Regions from separate parts of the Homo sapiens genome. Here region 1 is linked to region 2. The links are contacts of gene promoters, found by promoter capture Hi-C in human tissues and cell types (Jung and others, 2019). All regions are on one chromosome and are shown on one strand. The core of a region is centred on a gene start or on the middle of the fragment in contact, and the rest is flanking DNA. Distances in the headings are between cores, read along the strand shown. Region 1 overlaps PPP4R2 (protein phosphatase 4 regulatory subunit 2). Region 2 holds the start of GXYLT2 (glucoside xylosyltransferase 2).

The links. The method cuts DNA at HindIII sites, captures the fragments that hold promoters and counts their contacts. A contact is called where the count stands out against the background at its distance.
Region 1: a fragment that was not itself captured here is called in contact with the fragment with the promoter of GXYLT2 in region 2 in 3 of the 25 tissues and cell types used here (bladder, dorsolateral prefrontal cortex and neural progenitor cells).

Annotation. Positions count from the first base shown.
Region 1 is chr3:73,010,247-73,015,169 of GRCh38, forward strand. All of the region lies in intron 2 of PPP4R2 (protein phosphatase 4 regulatory subunit 2), which reads left to right. Among named protein-coding and RNA genes, the nearest start is that of PPP4R2, 16 kb to the left of the region's middle. The HindIII fragment of the contact is 7,065 bases long and covers 1-4,923 here.
Region 2 is chr3:72,886,673-72,891,404 of GRCh38, forward strand. It overlaps GXYLT2 (glucoside xylosyltransferase 2), which reads left to right and starts at 1,374. Exons shown (of 7, transcript NM_001080393.2): 1 at 1,374-1,836. The coding sequence starts at 1,562. RefSeq lists silencers at 1,414-1,643, 1,744-1,873. The HindIII fragment of the contact is 12,200 bases long and covers 1-4,732 here.

The DNA.
Region 1 (4,923 bases), core at 2,043-4,542, 130 kb after region 2:
AGGTCTTGCTCTGTCATCCAGGCTGGAGTACAGTGGTGCCATCATGGCCCACTGCAGCCTTGACCTCCCGGGCTTAAATGATCCTCCTGCCTCAGCCCCCGCCCGCAGTAGCTGCCAGAGGCATGTGCCACCATGCCTGGCTAGAAAAATAAAAAGCTTTATTGAGAGGCTCTGTAGAGTGAAGAGCCATTTGCAGCTATAAGTGTCATAGTATCTCTCTTGTCTCTATGCTTGTAATTTGTTTGACCGTTGCTTAGAAGACAGTCATGGTTAAAACTCTACTTCTTTCAGTATAATTTACTTGTCTCTCTCGCTCTCTTTTTTTTTTTTAAGACAGAGTCTCACTCTGTCTCCCAGGCTGGAGTGCAGTGGTGCAGTCTCAGCTCACTGCAGCCTCTGCCTCCCGGTTTCGAGCGATTCTCTTGCCTCAGCCTCCTAAGTAGCTGGGATTACAGGCGCCCATCACCGCTAATTTTTGTATTTTTAGTACACCATGTTGGCCAGGCTGGCCTTCAACTCCTGACCTCAGATGATCCACCTGCCTCGGCCTCTCAGAGTGCTGGGATTACAGGCATGAGCCACTGGGCTCAGCCTTTCTTTTATTCCTAAATGGCAAATATTTAATGAACATTTATTTTGTGTCAGACATTATCAAATATTTCATATGCATAACCTGATTTAGTCTTTACAACTACTATCTGAAGTAGGTCTTTCTCTTTTTTAAAAATGAGGCTGTTGAGTCTTAGAAGGCTTAAATAATTTGTCCAAGGTTGTACAGCTAAGTAATGGAACTGGGTTTTATACTCAGGCATTCTGGCTCCAAATCCTCTTGTAATTTGCATTTTATTAATATATACCATTTGCCCCTTGTTCAGTTGTCTTACATCCTCCTCCTCTACTGTAACAGTGCCAGAATCTTTTCAAAACCACTGTTAGAATGCGGAGCTTTCAGGCCAGGTGCGGTGGCTCACGCCTGTAATCGCAGCACTTTGGGAGGCCGAGGCGGGTGGATCATCTGAGGTCAGGAGTTCGAGACTAGCCTGGCTAACATGGTGAAACCCTGCCTCTACTGAAAATAGAAAAAATTAGCTGGGCATGGTGGCAGGCGCTTTTAGTCGCAGCTGCTCGGGAGGCTGAGGCAGGAGAATCGCTGGAACGCGGGAGGCAGAGGTTGCAGTGAGCCAAGATTGCACCACCACACTCCAGCTTGGGCGAAAGGGTGAGACAGTGTCTCAGAAAAAAAAAAATTTGGAGCTTTTTGCTTTTGTTAGGACTCTTATAATCGTTATTTCTGTAATTTCTGAGATTTTTCAAGTGGCTTACCTAAGCTTGACCTCATGTACTGTGGGGTATTTTGGGGCAATTATGAGAAGGTTGAGTGTGGGTCAATAAGATAGATGACTGATGTACCCTTAACATTTGTAATTTTGACTATTTTCCAGTCACCTCAAGGAAAAAAACTTTTAAGTAATTGTAATTTTGTAGAGACATAAATTTGAAACATACAGGTGATGAGACTGATACGTGTATTTTAACTTGAAGTGACTCTAAGCTTTCTATTTAATATATGCATCTTGGATTTGTTATTCTCAGTTAAGTAAAAATCTTACCACACCAATATTGGGAGGTAGTTCTAATATTCCCATTTGTAGGTGATGAAACTGGAGAAAAATATATGCTATAGAATTTGAAATTTAAGGAAAGTGCGAGGTCTTAACATTTGTAATTTTTGCACTATTGTGTATATCTGGGAGGAAGGGGGAGAGTGAGGTAGCTTTCTATCAACTAATGGCAAAGTACGGTTGTCCCTTGTTATATGTGGGTGATTGGTTCCAGGACCTCCTTTGGACATAAAATCTGTGGATGCTCAGTCCCTGATGTAAAGTGGTATAATATTTGCATATAACCTTTGCACATCCTTGGTGCATCTCTAGATTACTTATAATACGTAATACAATATAAATGATACGTAAATAGTTTTTATACCTTATATTGTTTAGGAAGTAATGACGAGAAATGTCTCCACATTTCAGTACAATTTTTCTCAAATATTTTCTCCTTCTTTTTTTTTGAGACGGAGTCTTGCTCTGTCACCCAGGCTGGAGTGCAGCGGCGCAATCTCAGCTCACTGCAACCTCTGGCTTCCGGGTTCACGCCATTCTCCTGCCTCAGCCTCCCGCTTAGCTGGGACTACGAGCGCCTGCCACCACACCTGGATAATTTTTTAAATATTTTTAGTAAAGACTGTGTTTCACCATGTTAGCCAGGATGGTCTTGATCTCCTGACCTCATGATCCACCCACCTCTGCCCTCCAAAGTGCTGGGGCTACAGGCGTGAGCCACTGCGCCCAGCCCTTTCTCAAATATTTTCAATCTGAGGTTGGTTGGATTCGCGAATGTGGAACTCGTAGATACAGAGGGCGCACTGTATTTCTATTTAAAATTGTGCAACTAAAGGGAATTTAATATTTTTAGAGATTGTTTTATTAGGGATACTGTTGTCTATGGTGATTTCCAGGGTGGCTTTTGAGGTGGTGGCCGTTTTTGTTTCAAAGAGATTTGTTAACTGGAGACTGGTCCACCTTTTCTAGGGCTTTTGCATACTAGAGTGTGTCTTGCTGTAAGGAGCAATCTTAAATGTAGGTAGAATGTAGGCTTTTTTTTTTTTTTTTTTAAACCACCCTTACCAGTGAATACTAGTGGTGAATTTGAGATTTTCATGTTTGTAGGGTCATTGCAAGACAAGTCGTGTTTCTTTTCCTCTTGTGTAGATACTGATACTTTTCTAGTCTTGCCCTGCCTGCTTGTTCATAGTAGAGAGTTTTTGGGGATGATACCTTGTTAAGTTGTCATTCAGTTTTCTTGTAAATATTGTGTGTGGTCTTTGGTTTTGCTATGTTGCTTTTGGTAGGATATGGCTAAAATCAGTGCCATAGCCAGCATGTGGTTACTTTAAAAATTATTTCTGACAAAATATTAGATGGTTAGATGAACAGGTAAAATTTTAAAAGTAGCTTTAAAAACTTGGATTTAAAATATGGAGAATATCTTGATATATGCTTTTTCTATTTACATCTTCATTTTGGTTAAGGAGGAATTTGGTGAGAATAACTGCATTTTGAGTGTAATGGATCACACAAATTAGGTAATTCTTGTGCCTATAAATGTGGAAAACTCATGTGCAAAGATGATTGAAATTGATACTGCTTTAGATGTTTCTGTCTCATTTTACAAAAATGTAAGAAAAAAAATCAAACTATACTGTTACCTATTTCTTGTATATTCTTAACAGAATGTTCTGTACACATAAGTGTATGTGTGTTAATCCTCTTGTTAAATGCCATGAAACTTCAGTTTGCCTTTTGTTATTTTCTTTATTTAGATACCTTTTTTCTTTTTCTTTTTTTTTTTTGAGACAGTCTTGCTCTGTTGCCTAGGCAGGAGTGCAGTGGCACAACCTCAGCTCACTGCAGCCTCCACCTCCTGGTTTCAAGCAATTTTTCTGCCTCAGCCTCCCGAGTAGGTGGGATTACGGGCACGTGCCACCGTGCCCAGCTAATTTTTTTGTATTTTTAGTAGAGACAGGGTTTTGCCATGTTGGCCAGGCTGGTCTCAAACTCTTGATCCCAGTTGATCCGCCTGCCTTGGCCTCCCAAAATGCTGGGATTTCAGGCATGAACCACCGCGCCCGGGCTTGTATTTGGATATCTTACCAAAACACAAAAATTTACCTCGTTGTCTTCATGGGCTGCATAATATTTTATTGTTTTGGGTGTTCTTTATTTAACCTGTCTTCTTTGATGGTTTTTTGGGCAGTTTACAGTTACCAACCAATTCAAACAGTGCTTAAGTTAATATACTGGCACAGATGTAAGAGTGGGATTTATGGGTTCATGATTATGTACGTTACTATGTTTGACAGATACTGCCAGCTGGCTTTCCAAAAAACTTGTTCAGTATGTGCTTCTACTAGCAGTATATGAAAGTTATCTCTATATCCATGTTAGCACCAAGCATTATTCAGATTTTAAAATTATTTTTATTTTTATATTTATTTTTGAGACCGGGTCTCACTCTGGCCCAGGCTGGAGTGCAGTGGCATGATCATAGCTTACTGCAACCTCAAACTCCTAGGCTCAAGTGATTTTCCCACCTGAGCTTCCCCAGTAGCTAGGACTACAGGTATGCACCACCACACCCAGCTAATTTATTAATTTTTTTGTAGAGATGGGGTCTTGCTCAGGCTGGTTGCCCAGGCTGGTCTCAACTGAGAATTGCTGAACTCAAGCAATTCTCCCACCTTGGCCTCCCAAAGTGCTGGGATTACAGGCATGAGCCATTGTGCAGAGCCCATTATTAGGCTTTTAAATCTGAAAATCTGGTAGGTGAAAAATGCTTTATTTAATTTGCATTGTTTTATTTTGTGCTAACATCTTATAGTTTTTTTTTATTGCCACTTGTAATTTTCTATCTGATGCCTCATTGATAGAGTTGTTCCTTTTTCAGATTTTTTGGCTAGACTAAAAAAATTGCCTGTATCATTTGTTTCATTGGAGATTTGAAAGTGATAATATTCTAAATCTAGCATTGCTTTATCATTTATTAGTTGGAATCCTTGTGTATTTATTTATTCATTTTAATGAGATGGGGTCTTGCTGTGTTGCCCAGGCTGGCCTCGAAACCCTGGCCTCAAGTGATCCACCTGCCTCAACTTCCCAAACTGCGGGGATTGCAGATGTAAGCAGCCTCACCCAGTCGTAATTTTTTTTCCTCGAAATATACTCCTGGCCTGTTTATTAATAAACATGCCAAAGCAAGCCATTTAGGATATAGGAAGAAAATAAATACTGAGAGCACTCTGAGATCTCAGAAATGTCATAAAGTCCTATAAAACAGAAGGAATGAAAACACTACCCACAAGAT
Region 2 (4,732 bases), core at 124-2,623:
TCAGGTGTTCAAGACCAGCCTGGCCAACGTGGTGAAACCCCGTCTCTACTAAATATACAAAAATCAGCCGGGTGTGGTGGCGCAGCCTGTAATCCCAGCTACTTGGGAGGCTGAGGCAGGAGAATGGCTTGAACCCGGGAGGCGGAGGCTGCGGTGAGTTAAGATTGCACCATTGCACTCCTGCCTGGGCTACAGAGTGATCCAAAAAAAAAAAAAAAAAAAAAACTGAAAAACTCAGGGACGTTGTTATAACTTAACTAGTGTTCTTTGTTCTGTGGTGTGCTGAAAAGAGAGTTAATGGAGTCCTGGCTGTCAGTTCACCGTGAGTCATAAGAGGATGTGTCCTAATGTTTCAGATTTGTAACTGGGGATCCCCTGGAAGAATCGTCTGGAAATTACGACCTTCATCTGGCGATTGCAGCTGTTAAAGTCTCCAAAGAAGCCATTCTTACATTGTGTTGTGAAATTATTACTCTATCTCAAATCTGTGCCAGAAAGAAAATAAAATGTGTGTTTATGTGTATATTATAAGCTATGTTTTATTGAACTAATCATTACAGAACTTTTATTGGGCACCGACTGTGAGCCAGGCACTGTGCTAGTTTCTTTGAAGGCATTATTTAATTTAATGCTCACAAAACGCCTCTGTAGTGAGCAGTATTGTCATTCCCATTTTGCACGTAAGGAAGTTAAGGCTTAAGAAAGTTGTGCAGCTTCCTCAGGATCACCAAGCCAGTTAAGCACAGTGTCAGATTTCAAATCCAAACTTTGAAATTCATTCTCTAATTTCTTCAGACTACATGGATCGGTTCGGTCCAGTCTAGCTGTCCCAAGTTCTACTTTGGTGTTTTGAGTCTGAAACCCCAACTACTAATCACGTGTTACTTTTACTCGCTTTGCCTTATTTTGCATGTGTCCTTGTTGAATATGTCCTCCTCCAGGAAAAAGGGAGGTGGCAAGACAGAGGCGGCAATAGGGGTTTATTCAACAGATATTTATTGGGCACCACCACCCGCAGATCCCTGCACTGGGCAAACAGGACAGAGATGTTCCTGCCTGAAAGGATGTGTGGATAAGTGCACAAATGTGTGGATAGATGGATAAAATAAATAAGGAGGAAGCACATGGAATACATCAACAAATAAGTGAATCATGGTATGAGAGAATCAGCGGGAACAGTGGATGGCATGGGTGTGTGAGTGAATGGGGAAGTAAACGAACGAACGAACGAATGAATGAATGAAGTGGTTTTGAGTCTGAGCTACCAGAAGCCCGAGAGCCTGGCTGCGGGCGGGCGGAGGGGCGGCTACTCCACACAGTACGGTAGGCGCAGGCTGCTCCTCCTGTAACCCAGCTCTCACCGCCTCCCCCTCCTCTCCTCTCTCTCCTCCTCCTTCGCCGTCGCCGCCGCCGCCGGCCGCCCGCCGGCCGCCACGACCCCAGTCCCCGGCGGGCGGGCGGAGGAGGCGACCGCCGCGCGCTGCTGCACTCATCCTGCCGCCGCCGCGATGCGCAGAGGGGCCGAGCCGCCTGGGGGCCGCCGCCGCCGCCGCGCCGCACCATGAAGCTCCGCAGCAAGGCGGCGGCGCTGCTCTTGCTCGCGCTGGCCGCGCTGCTGCTGGCGCTGCTGTCCCTGCGCGCTGGCCGCGCTGAGCCCCCAGCGCTGCCCGCGCGCCCCGCGTCCGCCCCGCAGCGCCACCCCGCGCCTGTCCCCGCGCGCTGGCCGGGGCCGGGCGCCCTCCCCGGGGCCAGCCCGGGAGTTCGGAGGCGCCGGCCCCCGCGTCCGCGCCCCCGAGCGGGCCGCCGGGGCGCTGCGAGACTGGAGAAGTTGGCGAGGTGAGTCGTGGCAACCCCAGAATCCCATCTGCGGACCCGTGTCTCGCTCCCTACACCCGTGCCAAGTCCAAGGGAGGCTTTGCGCTGGAGAGACAGATTTCCAAGTTTCACCCACGGGCTGCCCACTTCTGTTTCTTAACCCGATAGAAAAGAAGACCCACCTTGGTGGAGTCCCCCTAACAGCTCGGTGTTGATAATCACGTACATTTTTTGAAGTGTCAAGGAAAGTGGTTTCGTACATTACATTTTTTAACTGTCAAGGCAAGGCGTATTTTTGCACTCTTGCAAACATGCACCCTTTGTTTAATTTGTCAAAAGCCATCACGGTGCAAGAATGTTTTATCTAATTCTCATGTTTCACTGGAGAATTTTACCGAAACCTTAGATATGGTTGAGTTGGAAAAGTTAGATGTTTACCAAGGACTGGCAGCCTCTCATTTAACCTCGAGTACCCCCATGCTTAGAACAGAAGGGACACTTGACCTAAGTTTATTAAAAAGAAGTTTTCTCCTTGAAAGGACTGATGCGTGGCACAGAAAAGACAGAGTGGGGGTTTCCAGATCCTCATTCTGTTTCAGGCTCGAGTGTGGTCAAAGGGTCCTCCTACAAGAAAAACAACTTAACCTTCGACCTTCTGTTTGATACTCTCTTTCCCTACACAAAGCCTAACACGCGGAGGCTTTTCATCAGAGAGCTTTATTTTTGGCCTCAGGGTTGCTGGAACGCCCCGCAGGTTAGGGATTTGAGTTCATTTCCTTTGTTGTGGAGGGCTTTTCAACAATCCCCTTGTCTTGTAGCGAGTCTGTTTCATCTGCCCTTTCAAAACTGTTGTTTCTAACTGCCATTGCAACGTCCTTGTTTGCTGGGCTCCTTAATTTCAACCTGAAAGGAGTTGAAAAATTATTTTTGACCATAATGACTAAATCTCTTTGGTGCCTTTACTGTAACTAAAAGACACGAAACCTCAAGAAGTAGCTGTGTCAGCCTTTGTTTCCCTTCTGTCTCAGTACAAATGGGTACTGACAAGTTTTAGGGGGAAAAAACCCCAACAATCTGTCGCTTTAAAGTACTTATAACACTTTACAGCCCTTTCTGGATGTATACAGTCTTTAAGGATATCTTTGTTAGGAAATTAATAGGATTTCCCCTCTTCTATACTGGAGTTTCTTGTAAGAGATTAATTAGGGTTTAACTGCAAGTTTAATATGATTGCTAAGTTTGATGGGACAACTGGTAAGATAATAATAACTGTCATCCTTAACATCGCTAACCTATTGCCAGGGACAGTGCTAACCGCAGTACATACAAATAGTCACAGTTAACACTTAACATATACAACTACATAATCCACACCATAACCTTCCCCCCCACCGCTGTTTTTCTTTTGGTTTTTTTTTTGTTTTTTTTTTTTTTTTGTGACAAAGTCTTCCTCTGTCGCCCAGGCTGGAGTGCCGTGCTGCGATCTCTGCTCACTGCAACCGCTGCCTCCCGGGTTCAGGCCTCCCAGATTCAAGTGATTCTTGTGCCTCAGCCTGCCAGGTAGCTGGCAAACAGGCGTGTGCCACCATGCCCAGCTGATTTTTGTATTTTTAGTAGAGAGACGGGGTTTCACCATATTGGCCAGGAACTCCTGAGCCCAGTGATCCATCTGCCTCAGCCTTTCCCAAAGTGCTAGGATTACAGGCGTGAGCCACCGCGCCGGGCCCAACCATAACCCTTTGACAGTGGTTCTCAAAGTGTGGACTTCAGACCAGTGGCACAGGCATCATCTGGGAACTTGTTAGAAATGCAGATTCCTGGGCCCCACCCCAACCCTACAGAATCAGAAGCTTTGGGGGGTCAGCAACCGTGTTTTAACACGTCCCTCCCATTGTTTCTCATGCACAACAAAGTTTGAGAACCTGCTCTGCAAAGTAAGCACCAATGGTATCCCCACTTTTCAGATGAGGAAAGTATTGCACAAGGGTTAGCAGTTTGTCCAAGGTTCACAGGTAACCTGGTAGAGAAGGATAAAGATCCAGGCAGTGTGGGCTCAGGTTGAGCACTTACCTGCTATGCTGATGTCAGGCCATAGACTTGCCTGCAATTCGTAATTTTACTGAGATGTCTTTTAAAGAAACACTGTAGATTTTTGGATCTGTCTCATTCTTCAAGGTGTCGAGAACAGTGGCGCAGCATCTTTTTGTGTCTATCTGAACAAAGTGTCTCTGACTAGGAGGAGATCATGAACAGAATCCAAATGGATGTTTTAGGGAAGGAGTGTTTCTATTTCCAGGAGTAACAGTACCCTTGAAGCCATTTTTCTTTTGAACATATCTCTTAGATTATCGTGGAAATTATGGCCAACACCATAGGAATACAGAACAAAATTTTAAAACTGGGGAAGGAGTAAAAAACAAAAGCCACAGGAAGTCTCAGGCTCAAATGCATAAACAGTTGACATTTTCTGGGACTTATTTATTGTTTCTCTTGCTACCTCCACAGAAATGGCAACAGAAGATTCTGAAGTTGTGAGGGAGCAGGAGGAAAGATCTCTGCTCGGTCTCCTTTATTGCTTTCCTAATTCTGCTTGGGTTAAATTTTTGTGGTTTAGGAGGAATTTCATTTAGGGAGGGAAGAGAAAGCCTCGTGTTTTCAGAAAACGAGTGCTTTAATCTCTTTACATGGCTAGAATCCAGAAGAGATGAAGGCTACGTGATCTCATTTCTCTGGCCTGGGGAGGGTCAGGCTTGTGGTTGTAGTTAGCTGAGAGCCTGGAGTTGGATGTGACACAGTCCACCACCTGCTTACCATCCACAGCCTGTGCTGCCTCGCCTCCCACAGGGGGCTGCTGTAAGTGAAATTCTGCCACGTCAACGCAGGAAACATAGCACTCTCCTTCCACATCTTGTTTTCA